2 separate regions of the Homo sapiens genome follow, and region 1 is linked to region 2. Evidence: promoter capture Hi-C in 16 types of primary human blood cells and fetal thymus (Javierre and others, 2016). All regions are on one chromosome and are shown on one strand. Each heading gives the region's core, a stretch centred on a gene start or on the middle of the fragment in contact. The rest is flanking DNA. Distances are from core to core; before and after follow the strand shown. Region 1 has its middle 17 kb from the start of IFNW1. Region 2 holds the start of SLC24A2 (solute carrier family 24 member 2).

Region 1 (3,236 bases), core at 623-3,122, 1.3 Mb before region 2:
TCTCCCCATTTGTTTATGTCTTCTCTGTTTTCTCTGAGAGACATTTTACAGTTTCCAGTGTACAGTCTTGGCAAATTTTCTATCACATTTGTTCATAATTGTTTGTTACTTTTGATGCTTTTATAAAAATTAGAAATAGAACAACCATATGATGCAACAATCCCACAAGTGAGAATATATCCAAAGGAAATGAAATCAGTATGTCAAAGAGATATCTGCACTCCCATGTTCATTGGAATACTATTCACAATAGCCAAGATATGGAAACAACCTAAATGTTAATGAAGAGATTAATAGATAAAGAGAATGTATGAATAGTATGTACAAAATGGTATACTATTTGCCATTTTAAAAAGGAAGGAAATTTTGTCATTTGAGACAACATGAATGAATCTGGATGACACTATGTTAACTGATATAAGCAAGGCATAGAAAGACAGTGCATAATCTCACCTACATATGGAATCTTAAAAAGTTAAACTCATAGTAGTAGAGAGTGGAGTGGTGGTTACCAGGGGCTGGAGGAGTGTAGTATTGGGAAGATGTTGGTCAAAGGATACATAATTTCAGTTAGATAGGAGGAATAAGTCCAAAAGATCTATTGAACAATATGGTGACTGCAGTTAGTCATTAGTAACAATGTATTATATTCTTGAAAATTGCCAAGAAAGTACTTTTTAAGCGTTCTTACTACAAAAAACCATAAGTATGTGAGGTAATGCTTATGGTAATGCACTCAATTTGTCCATTCCATAACATATATATTTCAAAACAACATGTTATACCTGGTAAATATAAACTGTTTTGTCAATTTAAAAATAAACTTAAAAGGAAGAAAAAATTCTTTCTTTTGAATTGTAAACATATGTAGATGTTGCCTATGATAAACAGATGCGTTTAAGTATGCTCTCATTGAGAATAATGACAAAACCATGGAAAGAAAGGTTGGTTGACTTTTTATTGAAATAAAATAAAAAACTGGGTATGGCTTGCCTTATGAAATTTTTTCAATATATTGACATAAAAATGCTCTTGGCCAAGGATATGAAAATGAAGCAAAGATGGCAGATAGATAAATGGTGAACAAGCCATTATTTCCCTCAAAAATTGTTATGCTAAATTTGTGCCTACTCAACTAATAATTCTGATTTGATTTGTAATAATGTTGATTTGGTGACTTGAAATATGATACTCTTTTTTAGTATTGTACAAAGGATTAATACATTTTTGAGCTTTGAGCAATAGAATATCCTTATATCTGTCCTAAAAACTGTATTAAAAACATAACGGACATTCAATGGGGATCAAGAACAAACAAAATTATGGCACTTCACACACAAACTAAAGATGTTTATCAAATATTAATGATATAATATTAAATGACATAGTACATTGTGCTGAAATCTAAAGCATCTTGGCACAAAGAGACTGCACATGTTTATGCAAATTAATTTGGTGGGATATTTTGAACCAAGTAGGAAAAAATAAGAAAGCTTTATTTAAAAAGAAAAGTCTTTATATAAAGCAGCTGGCTTCATAGAAGACCTACCCTTTTGTTTACAACAAATGAAAGTAACTTTGAGAGTATGTTTGATAAATGTAAAATGCTAGTAAGAGATACGAATACACTTCCCAAATGTGAAAATAAATTCGAAAAATGTTAAGCAATTAGAAATGGAGACATCACTGGATTAAAGTATCAATTCTTACATGATCTAGGGATATTATTTAAAATAGGGGTTTATTCACATCTTAATTTCAACTCTGAAATGGAGATACGAAAATTTAAACTAAGCATCTTCAGATGTTAAATATTTAAGGGAAGCAATTTTTCAATGAATACATCTGATTTGCAAAAAAGTAGCTAGTAACTTGGCTCTTAAATATTCTGACCATTTACATTCTGTAGAAATTTCATTTTAAATGGTTTTAAGCATGATTCAACATCAGTAATCTGAAATGCAAAACCAGTTTCATGTTTAGATCTTCTGAAATGATTCGTGAATTTGGTTTAGTGTAATTGAATTCATATTTGGAAGTGGTCTTGAAAATTTTATAGAAAAGACAAGATTAAAAACCACATGATTATTTCAATTGAAGCAGAAAAAGGATTCAACAAAATTAAACATCCTTTTTAGACAAAAACTCCTAATAGCTTAGGTATTGGAGTAAACATCCTCAACATAATAAAGGCCATTTGTGAGAAAGTCAGAGCTAACATCAAAATCAATGGGGGGAAAAATAAAGCTTTTTGTCTAAGATCAGTACAAAGCAAGGAAGTTCACTCACGCTACCTTTATTCAATGTAGTACTAGAAGTCCTACCAGAGAAATCAGATCAAAAAAAAAGGAAGAAGAAGAAGAAGAAGAAGAAGAAGAAGAAGAAGAAGAAGAAGAAGAAGAAGAAGAAGAAGAAGAAGAAGAAGAAGAAGAAGAAGAAGAAGAGAAAGAGGAAGAGGAAGAGGAAGAAGAAGACGAAGACGAAGACGAAGAAGAAGAAGAAGAAGAAGAAGAAGAAGAAGAAGAAGAAGAAGAAGAGGAAGAAGAAGAAGAAGAAGAAGAAATAAAAGGCATCCAAAGGGGAAAGGAAGAAGTTATCTCTAATTGTAGATGACATGATTCTGTATGTAGAAAACGCCAAGGACTCCACCAAAACGGTTAGAACTAAGAAATAAATTTGGTTAAGTTGTAGGAGACAAAATCAATGTAATGAAAATCACTTGCATTTATATACACAAATAACTTAGCTGAAAAAATTCAAGAAAATAATCTAATTTATAATAGCATTAAAAATACTTAGGAATAAATTTTACCAAAGAGGAGATAGACCTATACACTAAAAACTATAAAACATTAATGCAAGAAATTGAAGAATACACAAATCAATGGAAAGTAATCCTGTGTTCACACATTGAAAGAACTGAGGTTTTTAAAGTGGCCATACTACACATATGTTGTATATTTACAGATTCAACATAATCCCTATCAAAATCTCAGTGATGTTCTTCACAAAAATAGGAAAAATAATCCTAAAATTTGTATGGAACAACAGAAGACCTCGAATAGCCAAAGCAATTCTCTTAAAATATCCTGTAAAAGTTGTATTCATAAATATATTGCAGTCCATGCATATAATAAGATCATAAGCAACAATAAAAATCAAGAACTACAACTGTTTACACAGAGATGAGCCTCACAAACATAATGGTGAGTAAAAGAAGCTGAATCTGAAAGAAC
Region 2 (3,326 bases), core at 357-2,856:
ACCATCAAGCAATCAATCTGTTCAGTTGTTTTTAAAATATTATCAATTAATAGATATAATCATGTTTGATGTGTTTTAAACAATTGCGATTATCTTTTTTTTTTTTTTTTTTGATGCTCAAATTAGCCCGTCTTTGGTCAGTGACAGCCTATTTGAATTGTCCCCTTCTTGACACAACCCTAGTGGTAGTTGATAGTTTTCTTGCTTTCTGAAAATATTTACAGATAAAATGATATGATGCTCTGGGATTTGCTTCAAAATGATGACATAGGAAAAAGGGGTATAGATGAAATATGACTGTCCATGAGTTCATAATTGTTCAAGCTGGTTATGGCCCCATGGAGATTCATTATACTACTTTCTTACATTTGTATATGTTTGAAATTTTCTAAATTAAAAGTTAAAGATAAAAAAATTCAGTCAGGCACCTATAGTCTGCAAGCACTTGGGAGTCTGAGGCTGGAGGATGGCTAGAGCCCAGGAATTCAAGACAAGCTTGGGCAACATAGCAAGATTCAGTCTCGAAAGGAGAAAGAAAAAGAAAAGTTGAGTCTTGAATGCCTGGCTTTGATTGGGGGGTGGGGGGAAGAAAAATATTTCTAAGTTCCCTAGGCTTCCCTTTACTTATTGATGAGTAGGCCCAGAGGTCTGACTACAGAGCTGTACTCTAAGTCAGAGGTCATGAGCTCTCAGGATATACCCATTACCCCCATTGTAAGGAGGGCATGAAGAAACCCTCTTGGATGGGGGAGAGAACAGAAGGATGGAGGGTAAGGAGAGGGGAAAATGTGCGAAAAGCTTTCAGAGCTTCACGAGTTGGGTACCTCTTGGCAGCTTTGCTGGTGGTCACAGGGTTGGGTAAAAGGGGTTCCCTCACTACCAATTTGTCTTACCACCGTCTTCCATTCTTTGGCCCAGATTCTAGTCTCTCATCCCCAACAAGCCTGATTCTATTTCTTGTGGTCAAGGGGATCTTGCTTTCCAGATAGGACAGGAAGGAGCACTGGGCTGGACATCCCGAGGCCAAAAGCCGAAGCCTGTCAGTGATTCAAAATGACACGGGGTTTTGGGTCTCACTTTCATCACCCATGAAATGAAAGGTCACCCTGCAAGACTGAAGCCCCTGCAGTGTCCCAAGCATCCAAATCCAACACTCAAGAAACCCTGGACCCCAACAGCCTGTCCTGCAGGCCTCCGTGCCTTTTCATTGAACGTCTTTTCCACCATTACACATCACATCGCCTCCTAAAGAAAAGCGCGACTGCTATCACTTTTTGCAGATAATTGGAGAGGCGGTGCCCAGCATAAGATGACCCCAAAGTTGACAGCACTTTCAGGCTTTGTGAATTAGGCGCGTCACCGACCTGTACGATTTCTCCTCTCTGCCCTTGCTCGCCTGCAAATCCTGACCCCCGTCCACACTGCGGAGAAATCTCCTAAGAGACGGCTGCCAGCGTCGCCTCTGCGCCCAGGAGGCGTGGAGCAAAGGACTCGGGAGCTGAGCGCGCTGCGGCCCCGCTCCCAGCGCACAGCGCACAGCCCAGAGGGAGGGGCCGGCGGGGGCCGGGCAGCGCCAGACTCGGAGCGCCGGGCTCACAGCGGCTCAGTCTCCTCCCGAACCCAGCCCGGCTGGCGAGAGCGGCAGCCAGTGCGAGCCAGAGCCCGGGCCTCAGAGCGGGTAGGCGGAGGGCCGGCGGACTGGAGCGGCGGGCCGCGCTCGGGGGCCCCGCCGTGTGCGCGTCCTCCCATCTTATCCTGGTAAGTGCGGGCGGCTGCGCCCCGCCTGCCGCTGTAGCCGCTGTGGCGGTCGTCCCCGCATCCCGGTTGCGCGCATCCCGTTGCTGCTCTGCAGGCTCACAGGTGGCTCTGCCGTGGATGTGGGCGCCCCAGGCCCCGCTAGGAGTTAGCCAACTCTCTGTGCTCCGGGGCGTGGATTTGGAGCCCCCGCCTCTCCTACCCTTGCTTTTGGCTTGGGATGGGGGGCGTGGGGCAGGGCCTGCCGTCGGGGGAGACGCGCAGAGGGGCGCTTCCATTCCCCAGCCACCTACAAACGACTCAGGGGGATGCGGGCCAAGCGCCTCACCAAATGCAACCCAGCTCCAAGCTCACAGGTGGGGCGTCTGTCCTTTAGATTTATTTTCCTATTAATCCACCAGGGAAAGTTTGGGACCACGCAAGGCAAAGTTGGGGCGCGGCTGGGGGCGAACATTCTCCTACGGAGGCAGCTCCCGGGGAGACGAGCGGTGGGTTTTCAGGGGGAGCGAGGATCGGGCTGGAGATGACTTTGCGCCCGGGGAGTTGAATCTGTCCCTGCTGGTCGCCCGGGCCGGGCATTTACACAATCCCCTGAGTGCTGTGAATCGCTTAATCGTTCCTGCTAAGCGTTGACGTTCGCAGCCACCTGGGAATCTCCGTGATGGGGTCGGGTTATCTCAGGAGTAGCAGCAACTCAGCGGGGTTGATTTGTGCTCTTGCTTTGCTCTGAAAACCTGAGCTCCAGCTAATCTCAGTATTTAAGTGGCGTGTGTTTAATTAGCTTATTTTACACCTGAGATTATCTCAGCGACTGCCTCCAAAATGAAATCGTTGATATGGAAAAGAATAGTCTTTTTAAAGAAAAACTAAAAAGAGAACTCTTCAGAATATCAGCTGTCAAGTCTGGCTATTTTACCCATCTCCTCCGTGGGATAGAGAAAGAAAACTCTGCTTTGGATATCTAACCTATTAAAGTCAGTGGTGGGGCTATTTTGGGCAGATTTTGTGGACAGAGGTATTGCTACAACTTGCGTATTGTTTATGAAATACACATGTGGTCTCTCGAAATAGCCTACTTGTTATTTCACTGCATTGGGAGTTCTTTGACTTACTAAGCTGCCTATTTTAAATATGACTAAAGGTTGTTTTTTTAAAAAAAATATTTAGCTGAAAACAATGTCTAGATGTTTAGGGAAGGCAGCTTGTGCATGTCACCAGAATTTTTTTTTGTAAACTTAAATTTGTAAAGGACTACTTTCCCGCATCTGATAAAGGAGAGACTTTTTATGAAAAATAAGATCTGATATCATTATGTGTGCAGAAAAAAGATCACTAAATTAAAGAATCACTCACTTTCCAAATGATAGGTTAAATCAGAAAAAGTTGCCTACAACTGAGAATTATGTAATTGGACCAAAAGTAAACAATGAATAATTGTTAGTTGCCAAGTACCTAGACAGTTCTGAAAGAAGTCTAGGTACCTTTATAGCACTGGAAGGTTATTACATGATTTAAGGTGAGATAATCTGATAGATTTTCACCTGTAAAATTTTTATTCTTACATCTGCCTT

Evidence for each region. Contacts are between HindIII fragments. The CHiCAGO score rates a contact against its expected background, and 5 or more counts as called.
Region 1: a fragment that was not itself captured here is called in contact with the fragment with the promoter of SLC24A2 in region 2 in 2 of 17 cell types (naive B cells and activated CD4 T cells); the score reaches 7.7 in naive B cells.

The regions. Positions count from the first base shown.
Region 1 is chr9:21,123,594-21,126,829 of GRCh38, reverse strand. No RefSeq gene overlaps it. Among named protein-coding and RNA genes, the nearest start is that of IFNW1, 17 kb to the left of the region's middle. The HindIII fragment of the contact is 754 bases long and covers 1,496-2,249 here.
Region 2 is chr9:19,787,317-19,790,642 of GRCh38, reverse strand. It overlaps SLC24A2 (solute carrier family 24 member 2), which reads left to right and starts at 1,606. Exons shown (of 11, transcript NM_020344.4): 1 at 1,606-1,758. LOC124902128 (a long non-coding RNA gene) reads right to left here and starts at 1,484. Exons shown (of 2, transcript XR_007061432.1): 1 at 1,365-1,484. RefSeq lists an enhancer at 2,043-2,690. The HindIII fragment of the contact is 3,775 bases long and covers 801-3,326 here.